Regions from separate parts of the Homo sapiens genome. Here region 1 is linked to region 2. The links are contacts of gene promoters, found by promoter capture Hi-C in blood cells and fetal thymus (Javierre and others, 2016). All regions are on one chromosome and are shown on one strand. The core of a region is centred on a gene start or on the middle of the fragment in contact, and the rest is flanking DNA. Distances in the headings are between cores, read along the strand shown. Region 1 holds the start of NEIL3 (nei like DNA glycosylase 3). Region 2 holds the start of SPATA4 (spermatogenesis associated 4).

Region 1 (5,147 bases), core at 1,300-3,799, 1.1 Mb after region 2:
CTGGTAAGAGTGCACAAGAGAAAATTCAAGGAGGATAGCAGTTAGCAGGATCCTGACATAGTCCAGCTGAAATGTAGCAAGGGTCTGCACTAGGGTAGGCTTGCTTGCAATGTTGTGGGCTCTTTTTACAGACAATGTAGATACACAGCGTATGCGAGTTTGCTTTTGATTGGACGTAAGAAGCAAGATCAAAGAGATATACCAAAGGACTCAGAGGCTAGTCACATATAAACAAAATCTGGGCCAGGTGCAGTGGCTCATGCCTGTAATCCCAGCACTTTGGGAGGCAAGGCGGGTGGATCCCTTGAAGTCAGGAGTTCAAAACCAGTCTGGCCAACATGGTGAAACCCCGTCTTTACTAAAAATACAAAAATTAGCCAGGCGTGGTGGTAGGTGCCTGTAATCCCAGCTACATCGGAGGCTGAGGCAAGAGAATTGCTTGAACCCAGGAGGTGGAGGTTGCAGTGAGCCAAGGTCAGGCCACTGCACTCCAGCCAACAAAACAAAACAAAATCTGACTCCGCCTTTCAGTCACGCCAGTGAAATCTCTTAATGCCTTCAGTGTCAGTCCCCAACTCTTACTAATTAAAGATCGTATTTGACCCAAATGTGCACAGTACACAACACCTTAAAGAGAAATGAGGTGAATCAGATAAATGAACAGGTTGATATTTTTTAAATTTGTCCACAAGCTCTTTGATATCCCTCCTTTCAAATCACAGCTTAATTCCCCTCCCCTTGTGAATGCACTGTATTTAATGACTGGCTTCTAATGAATGGAATAAGAAGTAAGTTACCATAGTAAACTAAGTAATAAAGGGTGACTAAGTAATAAAGGGCATTGCAGCTTTCTCCTTGACTTCTCTCTTGGATCACACTCTCAGCTGCCATGTCATTAGAAGAGCCGAGCTGCACTATAGAGACACAAGAGGTGAGAAACTGAGGCCTCCTGCCAACAGCCATGCAAGTGACTCATCTCGGAAGTGGATCTTTTAGCTACAAAAAGCCTTTGGGGCACTTTAGCCTTGGCTAATATTTTAACTGTAACCTCTTGAGAAATGCTGAGCCAGGATGACTCTGGCTAGCTAGACTATTGCCAAATTCCTGACCCACAGAAACTTTGAAATAACAAATGGGATAATTGATGAGGTAACAATAAATAACTAGTACAACGCTGAAAGAGGAGAAGGTATATAGGACTTTTCTCCATCAAAGGACAGAGATTATTGAATTGAACAAGGGAGTAAAGTACAAATAGTCCTGAAATTGATCCAGCCAACTTTTGATCACTAATCTCTCCCTGCAAAGGAAAGATTTAATACTTTTCAAAATTTCAATCAAGTCTTCAGTATATTCAAATTCAACTCTCTAGTATACAGATGCTCCTCAACTTACGATGGGGTTATGTCCTGATAAACCCGTTGTAAACTGAAAATACAGTAAGTCGAAAATGCCTTTAATATATCTAACCTACCAAACATCATAGCTTCACGAGGCCCTCCTTAAATGTGTTCAGAACACTTACATTAGCCTACAGTTGGGAAAAATCACCTAACACAAAGCATATTTTATAATAAAGTGTTGAATAATTTATTGACTACTGTACTGAAAATGAAAAACAGAATGGCTATATGAGTACTCAAAGTACAGTTTCTACTGTGTGTCACTTTTGCACCATCATACAGTCAAAACACTGTTACGCTGGGGCATCCTAAGTCAGCAACCACCTGTGTATATGCTCTTGTGGTTTAACGGCAGCACAGTGCTATGCTTATGAAATCACTTAGAAATTGACATTCTGTTTTAATGTGTAGTATTTCAGTTTTCAAAAAAGAATACACTTTATAATTTACAAAACTATATGGAGTCATAAACTTCATAGATTTATATGTATGCATGCATCTTTGGTTAGGGTTGTGGGTAAATTTGAAAAGCTACGCATTACCCTCAAATTTATATAAACCTCTACGTTTAACAAAGCAATTTCATATAGCTTTCATCTTGGGGCGTCCCCTTACAAAATGGATGCATGCACTTAGGTAGGGCTCACTTAACTATCTAATAATGGAGTTTTTAAATATAGACACTAGAATATATTCTGCTGTTTGTTCCAAAAACCCTCTTCTTCGTTTCTCTTATCCCACCCACGTCCGAATATAGCATGCCAAAAACAGAGCCAAAAACAAGATTGTCTGTGACATATCTGTCCTGTCACAGACAAGGACAGATTAAGAGGACCAGATCAGAAAATGTGTGTATACTAAGTAGCTCAAAGACAAGGGCAAAACTTTAACGCAAAGAAAATACATTCAGAGCTTTCCAAGTCCCAATTTCTTCTGCTTTTACAGTTCAGCCTAGTTAGTTGTCCTCCACGCCCCCCGCCCCACGCGCGTTTGCGTTTTCTTAATAAACCCACAGCAAGACCTAGGGCGGGGGTGAACCACAGCGCATGCGCCGTAGGGAGCGACCTCAACAGCTAGGGTGCTGTTTGGGCGGGGCCTGGGCGGGGCCAGACGCGCGCGAGATTTGAATTTCCTCTGCGTGCGGTCAGTGCCCGCGCAGCGTTGAGTTGCACAGCGGTATTCTCACCAGGCCCTGCAATCGGTGGGCCACAGTGCCGGCCACAGAGATGGTGGAAGGACCAGGCTGTACTCTGAATGGAGAGAAGATTCGCGCGCGGGTGCTCCCGGGCCAGGCGGTGACCGGCGTGCGGGGAAGCGCTCTGCGGAGTCTGCAGGGCCGCGCCTTGCGGCTCGCAGCCTCCACGGTTGTGGTCTCCCCGCAGGTGAGCTACTCCTGTAACAGGCCATGCAGTCAGCAGGGGGGAAATGGAATAAAGACCCCATCAGGGTTCCAGGATTTAAAGTGTCATCTCTTTGCTCTGGCCCAGGTTTCCTGGGGTCCCACCTTTCACAGAGTTTATCGTCACTTTACTGTAGGGAGAAGTCGGTCCTAGCGCGCCTGCGCAGGAGAGGAGGGCTAGCGTTCTGGGCTCACGCTGCCGGAGCAAGATGCCCTAGGGGAATCCAGTGAAGGTGTTTTATCCGAGTCACCTTACTTAACTTCTTTATGATACACACATGGTTTCCCATGTCTACAGCTGCATTTTTTACTATTGATATTATCAAATCTCTGCTACCTCTGATATGTTTTCTTCGTCCCATTTTAAGCTTTTAGCATAAAATTCTACTTTCTTGCTTGGCTAATCTGCAATTGGTAAGTATATCACAACTAGTATATAATTCTAAAACTACACGTAGAAAATTTAGCACTAACTTCTCACTCAACTTCATATTGCCATCTAATTAAGGGGCAATGAAACCCAGTTCTGGTTCCCTTAAGTGAATTTATTTCTTTTTAAAGTAAACTAGCACAGCTTCTTGCCACTCAGGCATTCATTGCAGACGATGTGGTATTCATTTGGCCAGAACTTGTACTAAAAATATTCTGATTAAGGCATCATGTTTTAAAAGCCCTCTAGATGTATGGATGATTGTATTTCATGCCTACATGCAATATTGCACTGTATTTCAATTTCTTCTGCAAAGCTTCTTATAGCCTTTGGTCCTGGAAGAAAAAGTTGCCTGCTATGAAATTAGCATATGCTTACAACTTGAAAGAAATGAGGTTCTAAGTCTAAGAAAATATATTTTCAAACTTGGGAAAAAATAAGTTTTACATCTCCTTCCAATTGCCCTTTTGTTTATTTTGACTTGATATGCCAGTAAGTACTCTGTACCTATTTTTTTTTATTATTGTTATAGTGTTTCTAAAATCGTTTCAGGGTACCACAGAGATGGATTTTAGATGGTTTCTTAAGAATATTAATATTTATGAAAATTACTCATTCAATAAAATTTTGAATACTCAAGACACCTGGGGAGCAAAAACAAATACTTCCTCTTTTGGAGCCTATACTTCAGTTGGGAAGACACAAAGACATTCATTAAATAATCACCTAAAGAAATATAAATTAATAAGTTCTGTGAAGGAGAGATACACGATTCTTTAAGGACTTGTAGGAAGACCTGGGAAGGCTTCCCCAGGGAAGTAGCAAAGCTGAGGTGTGGGCCGGGTGCAGTGGCTCATGCCTGTAATCCCAGCACTTTGGGATGCTGAGGTGGGCAGATCGCCTGAGGTTGGGAGTTCAACACCAGCCTGACCAATATGGAGAAATTCCATCCCTACAAAAATAAAAAATTAGTCAGGCATGCTGGTGCATGCCTGTAATCCCAGCTACTCAGGAGGCTGAGGCAGGAGAATCGCTTGAATCCAGGAGGTGGAGGTTGCAGTGAGCTGAGGTCGCGTTATTGCACCCCAGCCTGGGCAACAAGAGCGAAACTCTGTCTCAAAAAAAAAAAAAAAAAAAAAGCTGAGGTGTGCAGGGTGAGTAGAAGCCATGCAGCTCAGGGATTGGAACAGGAAAAAGACTGAAAGAAAGCCAGAGTAGACACTGCCCTCTCATTTAGGAGTCGACTGCAGAAATCCAGGTGACAAATTTGGGGTCAAGTGCTGGTGGTGGAGATGAAGACAAGAGAATCACTATGATGGGAGGGCTAAGCAATGGATATGACATGAATATACTTAGGGATATCATCATTTACATCATTCAACCACAACGTATTTTGTGTTAGGTTTTATGCTAGCTCCTGCGGATACGAAGATGAGTAGGATATGCTTTCTGCTGTGAGAGTCCAACCTAATGTTTTAAATAAATATCACCTCATTGGTATTTAGGAAAAATAGCTTAAACATTTCCTTTTAAGTTTTGTTGTGATTATCTCTGATGGTATGGCATGAGATGCTTTTACATTTCATTCAGTCATGAAAAAGGATAACCCTATGATAAAGGATTAACCTGATTCTACAGATGAGGCATATGAGGCTCAGAGTGACTTTAAGTAAATTTGCCCAAGATCACATGTCTAGTAAGGGGCTAAACCAGGGTTTGATTTTTCTTTAAAACTCCAAAGCCTACCCTCTTAACCATGCCATAGCTCCTCTCAGCCATAAAAGATTCAGTAGGATCTTTATTGCTTTTTTAGCATACAACGGTAAGAACACCATAATGCTCAGTATATAGTAGTGGTTATTTATTAAATAGAAAAGTGCAATCTTGGATTTTTGGCTGTGTCTACCACCATTTT
Region 2 (4,660 bases), core at 202-2,701:
GATCAACTGTACAGTGTGGTGCGCTTGTGTGCAAAGTGCAAGAGCAGTGATGCTGGTGATTCAGATATGCCAGAGAGAAACCATAAAATTATTCCTTTAGGTGAAAAGATGAAAGTTCTTGACTTAATAGAAAGTTGTAAGAATGGTTACAATGGTAGGAATGAATCATATTCCTGAAATATGAAGAAAAAGAAATTCTTGATAGTTTCGGCATCACACCTCAAACTGAAAAACTTTCAGCCACAGTGTGTGATAAGTGCTTAGTTAAGATTTTTAAAAAGGCATTAAATTTGTGGATGGAAGACATAAACAGAAATGTGTTCTGACAGAGGGTTCTGTAGTATCCACAGTTGCCATCCACTGGGGATCTTGGAACCTATGCCTCTCTGATAAGGAGAGACTACTTTAAACCAGAGTTCTGCAAAAGATTCATTGCCTTTTTATAGAATTTAGTTTGCATTCCCAGAGCAAATATTAGCTGCCAGTTACATACAAAGTGCCTACAATTAAGCAGCAACTTTAAAAACTTGTTGGTAACTCTCAAACTAGATGCCATCTCCGACAAAGGGTAAACTGATCCTTACCAGTATTTTTTTTTTTTTTTTTTTTTTTTTTTTTTGAGACAGAGTCTTACCCTGCCACCTAGGCTGGAGTGCAGCGGCATAATCTCGACTCACAGCAACCTCCGCCTCCCGGGTTCAAGCATTCTCCTGCCTGCAGCCTCCCCAGTAGCTGGGATTACAGGCACCCGCCACCACACTGGGCTAATTTTTTGTATTTTTTAGTAGAGACGGGGTTTCACCGTGTTGGTCAGGCTGTTACTCAACTCCTGACCTCAGGTGATCCGCCTGCCTCGGCTCCCAAAATGCTGGGATTACAGGCATGAGCAACTGTGCCCGGCCGTCCTTACCAGTATTAATGCCCAATATCACTAAAGAAAAAGCTTTGACTATTTTAATATTTTTGTAGTCACCAAAGCATTCTATATTGTCCACAATTTAATGATTGGTTGATTAATTGAATAAACAAGATGTATCGTGGTATTTTGTTAAAGCCTTGTTCCCTAATAGTGTTTTCGTGTGTGTACGTGGGTGGGGGGGTCTTGATTTGAAACATAAGCCAGGCCAGGGTAGGCAATCTGAGGCCTGGCAGGCGGCGGAAAGCAGGCGGGGCGCCCACCGGGGGGGCCTAGGACTGGCTTACTCAAGCACCTGTTGATGTTCCTGGGGAAGAAGCTGAGATCCAGACCCTGAAGCCAACGCAGAACGGAACGAGACAAGCGGGAGCTCTTCGGCGCATGCGGATAGACCAGACACTTCTTAGGCCTCCCTCGGATGGGAGCTGCTAGCTGTGGCGAAAGTGACGGTGACTTGTCTAGGGCTGCCGCAGTCTGTGTCAAATACCCTTTTTCCTGGCCGGCGGCAGCCATGACGCTTTCTGGGTTGCTGCGGCAACAGCAGAAGGCGGGGCTGGGCCTTATTGCTGGCGGCGCGGTCTCGTGGGGCGGGGCGGAGTCTTATGGGGCGAGACCTCAGCGCCTGCGCAAGCGCCGCAGCAGCCGCCCGTACTTCCGCTTTACTCAGATTTTGGACCGCGGGGCCGGGTATCGAGGGAGGCAAAGCTGGGGTCCCAGTGGTGTGGCTGCGGTCTGGGGAGCGCTTTCAGTCTCAGATTTAGTTGGCCTCACTGTTAACCTATTTAGAGCTTTTTTTTTCTTATGTCATCGTTCATAAGTTTTGTATTTTAAATATTGTTGGTTTCTGCCCAGCCAAAGGCCTATTTTCAGTCGTCTAGTTTGAGGAGTGGTGTGAGAAGACTCCAGAGGCCAAGGACAGTTTTTGTTTGGGAATTGGAAGAGATGGGGGAAAAAAATCTTTGAAATGGAAATGAATGTCCACAAAATTTAACATAACTATTTCCTTAATTATTGCATTAAGTATTTGTAAACATTAATATTTGAAAACGATGTGTAGGTTAGATTTTCACACTTAATTAAAATCTCCTAGTAGGCATAATTCCTTCATTAATTCAACAAATATGTATTGAGTCCATATTATGTGCCACGCATTCATCTAGTCACTTGGGATCTATCTGAACACAATGAAAACAACTGCAAAGTTGGCATAGGCAATTATAAATATGTAAGCTTAATTATTAAAATCCATTAAAAATTTTTACAGCCACAGTTTTTTGTTTTTTGTTTTTTGTTTTTTGTTTTTTTTTGCTTGGCAGGGCACAGTGGGTCATGCCTGTAATCCCAGCACTTTGGGTGGTGGAGGCGGGAGGATCGTTTGAGCTCAGGAGTTCAAGACCAGCCTGGGCAACACAAGGTGGAGAGACTTTCGCTACAAAACAAACAAACAAACAAAATAGCTGGGTGTGGTGGTGCACACCTGTACTCTCAAGTACTCCAGATGCTGAGGTGGGAGGATTGCTTGAGCTCAGGAACTTGAGGCTGCAGAGAGCCAGGTGACAGGCCCTGTGGATACATACACATGGTAAAATATGGGATAGATCTTGATAATGATACTATGTAATATTTTTAATGTTTATTCATATACATGCTTATTAATAAAGTAAACCAGTGTATTCTGTATGTGGTTAAAAAAGAAAACCAAAACTGAAGCTATGTAAGTGTTTTCTGTTAGGCTAAAAAAGTTTTAATGAATGATTCATTCATTCTGTAAACCTTTTCTGAGGAACTATCCTGGAGTATGTGCTAGATCTTTACCATCCAATATGGTAGCCACTAGCCACATGTGGCTATTTAAACTTAAATTTAAATAAACTCAGTTCCACTGGCTACATTTTACCTGCTCAATAGCCATATGTAGCTAGTGGCTGCCATGTTGGGTAGGACAGACACAGCACTGTTCCATCACTACAGGAATTTCGATTGGACAGCTCTGTGCGGCAGATCATTTATAAGAGATTCAGAGATAGAAATATCAGTGAAAAGATTACATACACTGAAAAGCTCTGCCATGGTAAAAATATGTTAGCACCAGAAAGGAAGCAAATACTTTGGCCTGGGAGAGTGTAAGAAGTCCTCTCAAAAGAGATGACCATTAATTTGGATCTTAGAAGGTGGTATTTTAAGCTGATTTTTAAGATGAAAGCTTTGAATAGCCATTTCTACTGTGAAAGGAAATTAAATCTTGGGACCCCCCCCACCTCCCCCAAATCACTAAGCTAAAGGGAAAAGTCAAAGTGGGAACTGCTTAGGGCAAACCTGCCTCCTATTCTATTCAAAGTCACCGCTTAGCTCACTGAGCTAAATGCATACCTGATTGCCTACTCTGGAAAGGCTCATCAGAAACTCAACAGAATGCAACCATTTGTCTCCCATCTACCTATGACCTGGAAGCCCCCTCCCTGCTTGAGTTGTCCTGCCTTTGCTTCTAGTTGTCCCACCTTTTCCAGACCAAATCAATGTTCATCTTCCACATGTCGACTGAAGTCTCATGTCTCCCTAAAATGTATAAAACCAAACTGCCCTGACCACCTTGGGCACATGTCAGGACCTCCTAAGGCTGTGTCACGGGTGCTCATCCTCAACCTTGGCAAAATAAACTTTCTAAATTAACTGAGACCTGTCTCAGAGTTTCTGGGTTCACACTACCTTTTATTAGCTATATGACTTTGGGCAAGTTATTTAACATTTGTATTTGTAAAATATGGAAATAAATAGGATACACCACAGAGCTGTAGAGATTAAATAAGTGAAATCTATAAAGAGCCTAAAACAATGTGCAGCACGTAGTGCTCAGTAAGCATAGATGATTGCTTCAAAGGTGATCTTGGAAATTTATTTGGATGATGAAGGGGCAATCTCACACAGAGTGACTAATGGGAGCAATTGCATAGAAATATGAGGGGTTTTTTAAATGAGTTTTAGGAAAGAACAGAACCCATTAGGGTTAGAGAAAGTGTTTAGGCATTATCAACCAAAGAGACATTGTCAACCAAAGGTTTAGATGATAATGGCTAGAGAGGTAGGTTAGATCTATAGGTTAGGGTTTATTTGTTTTTGTTTTTGAGACAGAGTCATGCTGTTGCGCAGGCTGGAGTGCGGTGGCGTGCTCAGGGCTCACTGCAGCCTTGACCTCCTGGACTCAAGTGAACCTCCCACCCCAGCCTCTCATCTCAGCCTCCCAAGTAGCTGGGACTACAGGTGCAAACCACAATGATTGGTCAGTTTTTAAATTTTTTATAAAGACGGGTCTTGAACTTGTGGGCTTGAGGAATCAATCCTCCAGCCTTGGCCTTCCAAAGTGCAGCAATTACAGGCATGAGCCACCACGCCCAGCTAGATTGGGGCTTAATTGTAAACAGTTTTGCTAAAGAGTTGGAAATCTTCCTGTAATCAGTGTGCCAATTGTTAAGCAAATACATCCCTGTTAGAAACACTCCCTTCTCTGTTCTCAGTTCTGTGATGCCGGAGTTGGAACGCTGCGGCATTTTCTCCTTTGCTGGGTGGATGGTAAATTCTGCCAATATGGGGAGTGAGAGAGTGGCCAGGAGGTGGGGAGCAGGGATTTGCTATTTCTCTGCTTGCTGTTCAAGCCCCTGTGTAACCATGGCAACAAAGCTTCACCTGGCCGGGGCAATTGGTTCCAGTCTCCAGTATGGTTGGTTGGTTGGTTTGTTTGTTTAGCAC

Evidence for each region. Contacts are between HindIII fragments. The CHiCAGO score rates a contact against its expected background, and 5 or more counts as called.
Region 1: a contact is called between the fragment with the promoter of NEIL3 here and the fragment with the promoter of SPATA4 in region 2, in 8 of 17 cell types (non-activated CD4 T cells, naive CD8 T cells, naive CD4 T cells and 5 more). The highest score is 15.2, in non-activated CD4 T cells.

Annotation. Positions count from the first base shown.
Region 1 is chr4:177,307,325-177,312,471 of GRCh38, forward strand. It overlaps NEIL3 (nei like DNA glycosylase 3), which reads left to right and starts at 2,550. Exons shown (of 10, transcript NM_018248.3): 1 at 2,550-2,785. The coding sequence starts at 2,630. RefSeq lists a silencer at 2,431-2,550 and an enhancer at 2,631-2,720. The HindIII fragment of the contact is 15,817 bases long and covers 1-3,168 here.
Region 2 is chr4:176,194,134-176,198,793 of GRCh38, forward strand. It overlaps SPATA4 (spermatogenesis associated 4), which reads right to left and starts at 1,452. Exons shown (of 6, transcript NM_144644.4): 1 at 1,212-1,452. The coding sequence starts at 1,429. The HindIII fragment of the contact is 1,203 bases long and covers 942-2,144 here.